Regions from separate parts of the Homo sapiens genome. Here regions 2, 3 and 4 are each linked to region 1. The links are contacts of gene promoters, found by promoter capture Hi-C in blood cells and fetal thymus (Javierre and others, 2016). All regions are on one chromosome and are shown on one strand. The core of a region is centred on a gene start or on the middle of the fragment in contact, and the rest is flanking DNA. Distances in the headings are between cores, read along the strand shown.

Region 1 (3,021 bases), core at 464-2,963:
ACCAGTTGAATTTATTTCTGAAAATACATTGGACATAAGTTTTTAAATCCAATAAGAAAGACATTAGCATGATTATATAGGAGTATACTGAATTTTAATGAACTTAGCGGTCTAATAATTGATGAAATATTTATTTATATTTTGGTTAAATTCATTGATTTACCAAAAACCAACTAAAAAATGCTATATTATATTCCTCATAAACTATGTTTATCTTCAAGAATCTCTAAGAGTACTCCTAAGTAGTATTGCTGAGACAGAATAACAAAACTAGAAACGAAATCTATACTCTGATCAGTTTCTGAACAATGCACAGCTAGTTACTCTTTAAGAGCCCTTGGGCATGAAAGCTTTTGAGCCTTCTTTGTTATCCTACCGAAGAAACATAGATACATACAGTAGGAAGCAGAATTAACCTTTTAATAACAAACTTAAAAAAGAAAGAAAGAAAGAATTAGATTACAGGGACAGCATGGAGAAATGGTGGTGTGGAAATCAAAGCTGTCCTTCAGAATATAATTCACATATACCTTGGCCTCAGTGAGTCTTGTCTTTGGCCTTCCGTGAGGTCTTTTGAAAGAACCATTTTCAACAATTCATCCCGTCTCTTAAGCCATTTAAATCCATTAGAGTTCCAGGAAGAAGAGGCCTGGCATGTAGTTCAAGAGTGCTGTCCGCTGATCTTTTTCTCCAGTAACTTCTACGATCTGATCTTCTGGTCTGGTACCCTGAGAGTATAAATGCAATTGGGGAAATGTTTTCATTGTCACAGACCTTTAATTGCATAAATTAGAATAACTAAAAGTGCTACCAGTAATTAGGACACTACAAAGGGGGAGACTTAAGAAGATACATTGCAAAGAAAACAATTATCGTAAATGACTATGTGTAAAAGTTTAGAAAGTGAATGAGTCACAACTATTGCTTTTCTCTAAAATTCACTCTCTAGCTCTGAACCCAAACACTCTCATTTACTAGGTCCTTTTCTAATAAGCAGCATCTAAAATGAAAGTAGCACATTCAGCTTATTGGAAAGACTTTTCCAATAACTGAAAATACTTCTTAATCAATGTGCCTAATTATCAAAACATACATTTCTAGCATCTCATGCACCTTGTTTAACTGTTATGGTTAGAGTTCTTTCCAGAGTTTCCTGGCTGTAGTCTATAACTTGCAAAATAAGAAATAAGAAAGAGATTCCACCTTCTAACCTGAGTTGGTCCAGTGGGTACTTCCTTTACGTGTGTTGTTAATGAAAGATATTTTTTATCTTACATCATAATGAAAGGATTTTGTCTCCGTGATACTGTATCTATCTGATAATCTGATCAAGCAATGCTGGCTATGATATAAGTGAGTAATAGTGTAACTTGGATCTTTAAGCTATACTAGTAGGCAAACTCAGGAAGAAAGAAATCGTTCAAGGTCACATTAGCATTATATCAAGCTAGCTTCAAAGTAGGGTCTGTAAGAGATTTTAAAAGATTTAAAAGTTTAATGAAAATAAAACTATCTAATGTTGCATGCATATAGTAATTATCTAAGATCTCTAATTGGCCTAGCCAGGCATCTTTCTTTTTCTCTTTTTCTTTCCGTCTAATCATATAACCAGTGGTTCTCAACCGGTGGTGATTTTTGTGCCCCAGAAAACATTTGGCATTGGCTGGAAAAATTTCTGGTTGTCACACTTGGAGGTAGAATGGGGGTGCTACTGGCATCTAGTAGGTAGAAGCCAGGTACTAAACATTCTAGAATGCACAAGACAGCCCTGACAACAAAGAATTATCTAGCCCCAAATGTCAGTGGTATCACCGTTGAGAAACCCTGATATAAACCTAGTTTGTGTGTAGGACAAAGGTAATCCTTTTTTTTTTTTTTTTTTTTTTTTTTTGAGACGGAGTCTCGATATGTTGCTAGGCTGGAGTGCAGTGGTGCGATCTCAGCTCACTGCAACCTCTGCCTCCCAGGTTCAAGCGATTCTCCTGCCTCAGCCTCCCGAGTAGCTGGGACTACAGGCGCACGCCACCACACCCAGCTAATTTTTGTATTTTTTAGTAGAGACGGGGTTTCACCATGTTGGCCAGGATGGTCTCAATCTCTTGACCCCGTGATCCACCTGCCTTGGCCTCCCAAAGTGCTGGGATGACAGGCGTGAGCCACTGCACCCAGCCAGGACAAAGGTAGTCTTGCCCAATTAGCAAGACTTCTTAGTGTGAATGGCCAGGGCTTTCTTTGCAAAAGGAAAAAAATGTAAAAATAGGCCTCAGCTGGGTGAAGTGGCTCCTGCCTGTAATCCCAATGCCTGTAATCCTTTTGGGAAGCCAAGTTTGGAGGATTGCTTGAGGTCAAGAGTTTGAGAACAACCTGGGCAAAATAGTGAGACATCCTGTTTCTACAAAAGAAAAAAAAAAAAGCCCTAAGGAGGTAAAAAATTTCAAAAATTCAATTGCAAAACAACAAAGCCAAGTGTGACTCCTGGCAAAAGCAGCACTTGACTTGTTCTTCAGCTGAAGAGGAATGGTTTGTTAATTCTTGCGTTTGACTTTACTACCGCTCCTTCTAGTCTGCAAAACAATGTAGCAGCAGAAAACTCCTCATGTTCTCATATGTTAAAGCATGAGGGAAACAAAGTCTTGCCTTTGGAGTCTGTTGTCACCAAGGCATAGCAAAGGAAAGCAATGTTCATGCTTCCAGACAGTGCTAAATATGGAGTTGGCATCCTGTAGACTCCTGAGTGATAGGGCACCTGAGGCTGCCTAAATCAAGGTTAATCTTTTCACTCTCCTTCTCAATACATCCTTAAGGCAGTTTAGTGGCGACAGCCCTCTACTTCTTTTCCTCTTTTGAGGCTGCCTTTGATGTGCATATAAAGCCAATTCCCGCAGTTATTTATCCTGGACCACATATTGCCAGACACAGCTCTGCTGCTTGCAGAACAGAAGAAAACAAAACCCCATTGTCTGTTAACAGAGGTAAACAAGGAAGGGTGGGAGAGGAAGCACAGCCCCATCAATATGGGCG
Region 2 (3,188 bases), core at 452-2,951, 700 kb after region 1:
GTTCCTTTAAATTGTATGAATTGTGGCTCTAACAGTATCATTAAAAACAAATCCAGAGTTCCTACCATGATTTTACACAACAGTATTCCCATGAAGACAGTTCTTGTGAAGGCTGATTTGATGAAAAACAGTGTAACATGAATTAATTTTTAAGTTTAAAATTTGATTGTTTTCCCTAGCCTGCCCTGATCAGTGGTTCAGTTTATAATCTATTAGTTATTTGGCAAGAAAAAACATTTCAGTTGTTCTCAATGCTGATTGTCCAATTGAAAGATTGAGATTTTCTTGTGTCAAGCATTCTCTCTTTGAATCAGAAAACTCAAAATAAGGGTATTATTTTTGTTATGACTTCAATTTGCTGGTCCACTGAAGTTAGGAAACAGCATACAAATGTTATCCAGTTGGGCATAACTGGTGTAGTGACATAAGGAGATTTTTCAGGAGGTAAAACACTTTTCAGGTATAAAGGTCACTGCCCTATTTCGAAGTCATTGAAAAGACCAAAACTCATCTCCTAAAGGGATTAGCTTTTTTGCCTTCACTTGCTATTATTGTACTGGCTTTACTTTCTTTTTTGAAATGCTCCTTGTGTACTTGCATTAGGATTTTACATCATTGGAGGAAAATCTGTTTGTGTGGATTAAATGGAATCGACAGAATCCATGAAGTCGTGTATAATTATCTCAAAAAAAAGAGTAGAATTAGAAGCATAGGAAATAGACCTGTTAAGCTGAATTTTAAAGTGTAACAGGCAAAATGCAAACACCCACAATTTTGGTTACTACTTAATGTAGAGTAAGTGTTTGCACTGTAGTACAGGTTACATCAAGTCAAAGATTGACCATCACATATATGCCATATGGGAAGGATTGAGTCCATCAAGTCTTTGAAGCTGTGCAATCTTTATAAATATGTAATTAATGACATAAAGCACATCTTCAAATTTAAAAATTAGTCCAAGGAGGAGGAGTAGGAAAGGGAGATATGCTATAACATTAATATTTCTGTCCTCAAGAGTTTAAAACCTAAGAACGACTAGTGCCTTAGTCCGTTTGTGTTGTTACAATAGAATGCCTGAGATGGAGAGACTTATAAGAACAAAACTTTCTTGTCTCATAGTTCTGGAGGCTGGGAAGTCCAAGATCAAGGCACCAGCAGGTTTGGTAGTCTGGTGAGGGCTGCATCCTCTAGAGGGGAGGAACACTACGTCCTCACATGGCAGAAGAGTAGAAGAGCAAGCTAGCTGAATGCTGCATGAAGTCTTTTTTATAGGCGTCTTAATACCATTAACAAGGGAGCAGCCCTCATGGCCTAATCACCTCTTGAAGGCCCCACCTGTTAACTCTACCACATTGACAGCACCTGAATGTTGGAGGAGACACATTCAAACGATAGCTACCAGACACTCACAAAAGGGAAATTTGTCCATCAATTCCATATAGACACATGCCCACCTGTCTCTTAACTTCATGGGAATTTTGTTTCCTACAGAAACTGTTGGTCTAAAAACTACATTGTTGATTTCCTAAGTGGTAATCTGATTTAATGACATTATATGCTCCACCTGTAGTTTACCCTGAATGCACCATTATCTGTCCTAAGCTTAGCCTGGCTGCAGCCACCAGGGATGCCTTTTATTTATATCTGTCTAACTTCCCACAAATGCAGATCCTCCAAATATCAAGATACTTGTACCAACATTCAAATTAAGACTCTTTTAAATTCTGATTAGGCATCTTGACAAGCCTATGAGTTGAAGTCTCAGTTATAATAGCTTATTTTGTGTCTATTCAAAGCTTACTGTGTACCCTAGAACAATGACCTCTTATCACTTAATTCAACTCTGATGCTTCCATTTTTATCTTCTTGTACCAATACACTTGCCCAATATACTGCCTGGATCATAGGAGGGGCTTAAGACATTTTGATGAGTGAATAAATGAATGAATGAATGAAGGACATTTAGGGACCATAGAGGGAGAGGTGAAGCAGGAAGGAAATGATCTAAATATAGTACAGGAGCAGAAGTGGAAGTTTGGAGAAGTTCTCAACAAGAATCCTAGAAAGTTGTCACATATACCCAGGAAGCCTTCAACTTTGATATTCGTGAGTTCAAATAATGATTGCATTGGTCTATGAAATGCTGTTTTCAAAACTTAGAACCTTGGAAAAGTGACAAAATCCTGGGTTTGGAGAGAAGATCTAATACATCCTTAGCAACTAGCAGCTACTGAAAATCAGGACCTGGGATTTTGAAAACTGAATGGAAAGGAACTCGCATGATAAAATATGCTTCTTAGTTCAGGCTGCTGTAACTAAGTACCATAGGCTGGGTGGTTTATAAACAACAGAAATTTATTTCTCGGCCAGGCGTGGTGGCTCATGCCTGTAATCCCAGCACTTTCAGAGGCTGAGGCGGGCGGATCACCTGAGGTTGAGAGTTTGAGACCAGCCTGACCGCCATGGAGAAACCCCGTCTCTACTAAAAATACAAAAAATTAGCCAGGCATGGTGGCACATGCCTGTAATCTTAGCTACTTGGGAGGCTGAGGTAGGAGAATCACTTGAACCCGGGAGGTGGAGGTTGTGGTGAGACGAGATTGTGCCATTGCACTCCAGCCTGGGCAACAAAAGAGAAACTCCATCTCAAAAAAAAAAAATTATTTCTTACAGTTCTGGAGGCTGGAAATCCAAAATGAGGATGCCAGCATAGTGAAGATCTGATGAGGGCTCTCCTCTGGGTTGCAGACTGCTGACTTCTCATTGTATCCTCACATGGTGGAAAGAGCGAGCTCTCCTGCCTCTTCCTATCAGGGCTCCAGTCTCATTCATGAAGGCTCCTCCCTCATGATCTAATTACCTCCCAAAAGCCTAGCTTTCTAATACCCATCACATTGAGGCTTAGAATCTCAACATAATAACTCAGTTAATTATTTCAAATCTAATATTCATAAATTTATTCTCACCACCTCTGTCTGTGGGTCGTTAAGTACGCATGTATGGTGATGCGGAGGCAGCTGCCAGTGCAGCCATCAGTGGACTTTACACTGGGTGCACTCTGGGGGCAAAGGCAGGGATTTGGGGGAAATTGAACCTACATCGCCTGTCCTGGGAGATGAGACTTTCTTTTTTAATTAAAATTGTTGATGGGAAACTATGCACCAGTCAGTGGAAACCTGTGCATTTCC
Region 3 (3,031 bases), core at 427-2,926, 720 kb after region 1:
GAAGACTAGGTATTACCTGTGTGTTCCTCTTGCTTCCTGTTCCTACCCACTCAAAAGCTAAACCTTAAAAAGAAAAAGAGAGAAAAGAAAAGGAAACCAAAATTCTTTAGCCCAATTCTCTCCAAAATTGTGAACCTGGCTTAGCATAAGGCCAAGATGCTTTGGAAGATGTGTTATTTTGGCTAATATTTTAGGGCTGCAAAATACCAAATGGTGCCATCTGAACCTGCAATATGTTTCTATTCAAATCTAGAAGAGGAACTTAGGCTCAGGAACAGATCAAACTTCTATGGAATTTGGCCTTCTAGATGCCTTGAGTACATTTTGATAAAGTATACAAGGTCCCCAGGGAAAATTATGTTTATTATGAGCCAATTTTTAACATATATTTTCCATTAAATAGTTCTATTACAGTAGTACATCCTGCCAACATTTTGATAAATGTGAGCATATTGCTCACAGTAATTTTAACCTTTGGGAATATATTACATCACTTACAAAGCTCAACTTCCACAAAATGTTTCTTGGGAATGTTGACTCCAGAAATGTTATCAAGGAGAATAAATGGATTATATTTTTTATTCCAAATGAATGTATTCTAATTTACTAGGTTAATTGTATTTTTTCCTAGTTAAACCTCTTCACTCAGTCTAACTCAAGAGTTTTTGAATCACACAGTTTTAACAGCATTCTCAATCAGCCAACACGTTATCAGGTAAGCATTCATTAGACGTATCTCTTGATCTCTATGTGATTCCATATATGTCTGCGTGTGTGTTTGTGTGTGTGTCATGAGTTGAGTTATATTCTTGAGATATACCATTATACCATGAGGATAGTTCAGAACAAAGAAAATGATTCAACACCTGTGAAATTTTTTAAAAAAAAATTAAAAATAAAAGAAAATAGTATGTTAGTTGGAGGAGACTTTAGAAATCAGAGTCCAAGTCCTTCATTTTTTTAACTAAGAGTTCCTCTCACAATATTGAAAGCAAAGTGTTGCTACAATTGCCAAATAATGTATAACTTAAACTGGAGAAAGCAGTAGAAGACAGAGTATGTTAGAATGAATAATGCTCCCATGGCAGGAAAACTTGTTTTTTCTCTAGGTTTTTCTTTCAGGTGATCCATTTTTTAAATGGATTGTTTGGCTATACTGTTTCATGAGTGCTACTTTAAAATATCTTTTGCATTTTGATACTGGATGTGACATTTGAACACTATTCTCCAACTCAGGGGAAGTTATAGCCCTTTGTTTTTCATCTCGTTGATCATTTCGATCATCAAGTCTTTGACTTTCTAATGTGTATAAGTTCACAAAAGTGACGATCAAGGAATTTATAATATATTGGTGATGTCCGTTACTGCGTATTGTTCTATTTTTTATCCAATTTTTTTAGAAGCAGGAAACCACAAAATGGCTCAGCCCACTGATTGTCAAAGTCTTTTTTTTAAGAAAATTTTTGTAAATTTTACATATTTGTTTATTTTTGTTTTATTGGTTTTGTCTAACTTTATTTTTAATTGATAAATAATTATACTTACTCATTGTCTACATAGTGATGTTTTGATACATATGTAGGAATCAGATCAGGGTAATTAGCATATCCATCATCTCAGACATCTATCATTTCTTTGTGTTGGTAACATTCAGTATCCTCCTTCTAGCTATATGAAACTATATAATATTAATATATCATTGTTAACTATGGTCATGCTATAGTGGTATAGAACAGTGGTCCCCAACCTTTTTGGCACCAGGGACCGGTTTTGTGGAAGACAATTTTTTCACAGATGGGGTGGAATGATGGTTTCAGGGTGAAAGTGTTCCACCTCAGATCTTCAGGCTCTTCAGGCATTAGATTCTCATAAGGAGTGCACACCCTAGATCTGTCACATGTGCAGTTCACAATAGGGTTCACAATAATAGGAGAATCTAATGCCGCTGCTAATCTGACAGGAGGTGGAGCTCAAGCGGTAATGCTCGCTTGCCAGCCTGTCACTTCCTGCTGTGCAGCCTGGTTCCTGACAGGCCACGGACAGATGCCAGTCCTTCATCTGCGGGTTGGGGACTCCTGGTGTAGAACACTAGAAGTTATTCCTCCTATCTAGCGGTAATTTTGTATCCTTTAACAAATCTCTCCATATCCCTCCCTACCCCTTACCCTTCCCAGTCTCTAGTATCCTTCGTCCTACATTTTACCTCTGTGAGATCAACTTTTTTTAGCTTCCACATATGAGTTTATGAGTTAGAACATGCGGTGCTTAACTTTATGTTCCTGGCTTATTTCACTTGACATAATGTCCTCCAGTTCCATCCATGTTGCTGCAAATGATGGGATTTCAATCTTTTTTATAGCTGAATTGCATTCCGTTGTGTATATATACTACATTTTTTATACATTCATCTGCTGTTAGACACCTAGGTTGATTTCATATTTTGAATATTGTGAATAGTGCTGCAATAAAACATGTGGGTGCAGTTGTCTCTTTGATATAATGATTTCTTTTCCTTTAGATAAATTCCCGTAGTGGGGTTGCTGGATCATATGGTAGCTCTATTTGTAGTTCTTGGAAAATCCTCCATACTGTTCTACATAATGGTTGTACTAGTTTACATTCCCATCAACAACATATTAGAGTTCCCTTTCTCTGCATTCTTACCAGCATTTTTTTTTTGTCTTTTTGATAGTAGACATTCTAACTGGAGTGAGATGATAACCTCATTGTGGTTTGGTTAGTGATGTCGAGCATTTTTTCATATATCATTGACCATTTGTATGTATTCTTTTGAGAAATGTCTGTTCAGATTATTTGCCCATTTTTAATTGGAATTTTTTTTTTTTTTTTTTTTTTTTTTTTTTTTTTTTTTTGCTGTTGAGATGATTGAGTTCCCTGTATATTCTGGATATTAATCCCCTATTGGATGAGCAATTTGCAAATATTTTCTCCAATTTTGTAGGCTGTCTTTTCACTGTTGTTTTTTCCTTTGTTGGTATGAACCAAACCAAGAAGCCTTTGGTTTGGTATG
Region 4 (3,373 bases), core at 815-3,314, 740 kb after region 1:
ATCTTGAAGTTGGGTTTCTCCTCTTCTTGCTTTGATTTTCTTTTCAAATATAATTTCTTATATGTGTCAGTATTCCTAAAAATATATTCTACAGATTTACTTGTTATTGAGCTTCATAAGAATAGCTTCATACTCTGTGGTCTTCTGCAACTGGAATTTTTCATTCAACATTATGCTTCTAAGATTCATCCACACTGTTGTGTGTGGCTATGGTGCATTAATTTCATTAATGAACACAATAACATTACATTGAAAATACTGCAATTTGTCTATTCTTGTTAATATTTGTTTAGATTGTTTCCAGTGTTTTGCAATTTCAGACAGGGTTGCTACAAACATTGTTGTATGTCTCTTGGTTCATACCTACAAAGTTTCTCTAGGCCTTTTACTGAGAAGTGGACTTCTAGCTGAAAGGGTATGTAAATGTTCAACTTTAAAAGATAATACCACCTGGATGCAGTGGGTCATGTCTATAGCTCCAGCTGCTTGAGAGGCTGAGGCAGGAGGACAGCGTTGAGCCCAGGAGTTTGAGGCAAGCCTGTGCAATATAGTGAGACTCCACCTCTAAAATTTTGTTAATAGAAATCAATTTAAAAACTAAAAAGATAGTACTAAATTGTCTTCAAAGTTGTCTGCAGTCTTGCCAGTAAAATATAAAAGTCCCCATTGATCCATATCCTTTCTAACACTTGGCATAACCAGATTTATTAATCGTTCTCTTTATTAGATGTAAAATTGTGTCTCCTTTTAGTCATAATTTGTATTTCCCTGCAACAGAGTTTGAAATTGTTTCTTAAGCTTGTTGACCCTTCACGTTTCCATTTCTGTGAAACATTTGTTTGTCTTTTGCCCATTTTAAAATCGGGTTATTTGAGTTTTTCTTATTGAATTAAAGTTCTTTATATATTTGGATATAAATTATTTTTAATTACAAGCATTACCAATATTTTCTCCCAGTTTATGGCTTGCCTTTTCACTTTCTTTATAGTATCTCTTTAAACAGAAATTTTAAATTGTAATGAAGTTGAATTTATCAGTCTTTTCTATTGTAATCAGAAGTTTTAATCTTGTTTTTTTAAAAATACAGGTCTACCCCAAATTTATAAATATACTCTCTTATATAATACGTTCTTTTAAGGGTTCAGAAGCTTTGTCTTTCACATTTAAGATGCAAATGGAATTAATTTTTGTGTTCATGGTATGAAATAGGGCTCCAATTTAATTTTTTCCATATGGGTAAACAGTTATCCTAGAAGAGCATTTATTTAGACTGAAAATAGTCACATATATTGCTATTAGAGAAACGTATGCAATATAACAAAATATATGGCATTTAGAAAACATAAAATATAATACTTACAGTAATTAGTATATATACAAATTTTAAAGAAAAGATATTGGAAGGGCATACACCAAAATGAAAACAGTGATTATCTTTGGCTGGTGAGGTTGCCAATGATTTCATTTGTTTATTTTGTTCTTCTGTATATTTTCCAAATTCTCTATATAGAGTATACATTGATGTATTTTTCTAAATACTGGGAAATAAGGTAGTGTCTATGGGTGATAATGTGGTGTCAATGTAATTTAAAAAGAAACTATTAGTTGAAAGAGGAGCCATGAATTCAAATCTTCAAGCTTAACTTCTTTTTAAAAGCTTCTTCCGTTTCTGAGGCAAAAAAAAAGTATTGGTGGATTATGCAGTAAGTCTCAGTAGAAGGCATTAAGAGAGTTAAGTTCTGAAACCTGCGTAATTTTTCTATACATAGTTATAAAATTTTTTTCTCCCCTGAGTTGTTTGCTTTACAGGTATGTAAGCCTCTTTGGAAAATAGGATTGGGGCACTTATGTATATCATTGGAGATCTAATCATTTACTTTTGCCCAACAGCAGATAATGAAAAGACTTATAAAGCGGTATGTTTTGAAAGCACAAGTAGACAAAGAAAATGATGAAGTTAATGAAGGTAAGCATCTCCAACTTAAAAAATATCCTTTTATAGCTAACTTAATGAACCTGGAAAACTTAATGTTGAGGCATATTTTAAAAATCCAATCCCAGGTTATAGTTTGGATGCCTCTAAGATGGGAGGAGGATCTTATGTTACGTTTCTAAAACTTCATCTTTTAAAATAAACAGTTATTTACAATATTGATCAGAGGCAATTTATCTCTACTCATAGTGCCCTAACTGATTCTTAGAATGTAAAGACTGACATCTTTCTAGGAGTTTTTTAATCCTTCTGACATAAGGTAGTCAGTAAGTATTGGTTACATTTTCAATGAGTTCACATTAGTGTTAACATTTTTCCAGTTAAGCAGATAAAAGAACAGTGACTCAAACAGAATTCATGTCTTCAGGAAAACCTCTGTTTTATTGTTCAGAAACACATTTTTAACCTGTTTTTCTTGTCTGGTGCGTCTCTTTTGAATTTCACTTTCCCCCCTGCCTCCTTACTTTAAGCAAGCTTATTTTTTTAAGGCATATTTGAGGCAGGGCATCTCTCTGGACTATAAAAATTTTTTACCAAAGTCTAGGATGTAGAGCTAAACACAGGCCCAGAGTTGGAAAGAAATCAACCAGGGAGAAATAAGTTGCCCTAAAAATGGAAACTGTACCTTCCAACACCAATGAGATGCCACTAAATCTATCTACACTGATAAAAGAGGAAAGGACTAAACTTAATAAAATTGTTCATAGGCTTTGAAGCCATTACTTGATTAATACAAGGAATGCATTTTAAATGTAAATCAATCCAATAGTGTATGTATGTAGAAGAGAAACCTGTGAATTTATAATCGATAACTAGCAAAAATCTAATCATGGTGACCTAATCAATCTGTCTCAGGAGAAAGGATTGGAATGAGGTTGTAGTTTAGAAAGCAGAAGTCTGATGAGTTGTACCGTAATCTCCATGGGGGGTGGAGAGGGAGGAACAAAGTGGGAAGAACTGTATGGCTAAAACGGCATAAAAAACAAGAAGCATTTCCCAAGCCCTTGCACAAAAGGGGAAAATCAATGAGAATTTGGAGTTTTGAACAAAGTTCTTACTAAGAAAATGTGTCATATAATCTCCTCATTTAATTAATGAGGAAACTAAAATCTGAAGAGTTTGAGTAACTTGTGTTTCCTGAATTGGCAGATTAAATATTTAATACAACACATAGGTTGTAGTCTCCCCATGAGTCGGGGACAAGGAAGAAAGGATAGTAGAAGGTGAAGTAGGGCAGGGGGTCTCCTGCGGTACTGAATGGTGTGAGAATCCACTCCTTCCACTGAAGTCTGCCTCATGATTTCAAATAAGATCAGTTTATTCCTTTTATATTGCCATATGCCAAAGGAAGCACTTTTTTTTTTTTTTGCCACAAAAGGG

What was found. The method cuts DNA at HindIII sites, captures the fragments that hold promoters and counts their contacts. A CHiCAGO score of 5 or more calls a contact.
Region 2: a fragment that was not itself captured here is called in contact with the fragment with the promoter of IL21-AS1 in region 1 in 2 of 17 cell types (megakaryocytes and erythroblasts); the score reaches 6.8 in megakaryocytes.
Region 3: a fragment that was not itself captured here is called in contact with the fragment with the promoter of IL21-AS1 in region 1 in 1 of 17 cell types (megakaryocytes); the score reaches 5.2 in megakaryocytes.
Region 4: a fragment that was not itself captured here is called in contact with the fragment with the promoter of IL21-AS1 in region 1 in 2 of 17 cell types (endothelial precursors and naive CD4 T cells); the score reaches 6.0 in endothelial precursors.

What each region holds. Positions count from the first base shown.
Region 1 is chr4:122,617,675-122,620,695 of GRCh38, reverse strand. IL21-AS1 (IL21 antisense RNA 1) reads right to left here and starts at 1,713. Exons shown (of 11, transcript NR_104126.1): 1 at 1,204-1,713; 2 at 531-728. All of the region lies in intron 2 of IL21 (interleukin 21), which reads left to right. RefSeq lists an enhancer at 1-543. The HindIII fragment of the contact is 3,552 bases long and covers 353-3,021 here.
Region 2 is chr4:121,916,191-121,919,378 of GRCh38, reverse strand. All of the region lies in intron 3 of TRPC3 (transient receptor potential cation channel subfamily C member 3), which reads left to right. Among named protein-coding and RNA genes, the nearest start is that of TRPC3, 34 kb to the left of the region's middle. The HindIII fragment of the contact is 194 bases long and covers 1,605-1,798 here.
Region 3 is chr4:121,897,296-121,900,326 of GRCh38, reverse strand. It overlaps TRPC3 (transient receptor potential cation channel subfamily C member 3), which reads left to right. Exons shown (of 12, transcript NM_001130698.2): 10 at 632-715. Among named protein-coding and RNA genes, the nearest start is that of BBS7-DT, 28 kb to the right of the region's middle. The HindIII fragment of the contact is 5,104 bases long and covers 1-3,031 here.
Region 4 is chr4:121,880,947-121,884,319 of GRCh38, reverse strand. It overlaps TRPC3 (transient receptor potential cation channel subfamily C member 3), which reads left to right. Exons shown (of 12, transcript NM_001130698.2): 11 at 1,891-1,966. Among named protein-coding and RNA genes, the nearest start is that of BBS7-DT, 12 kb to the right of the region's middle. The HindIII fragment of the contact is 810 bases long and covers 1,660-2,469 here.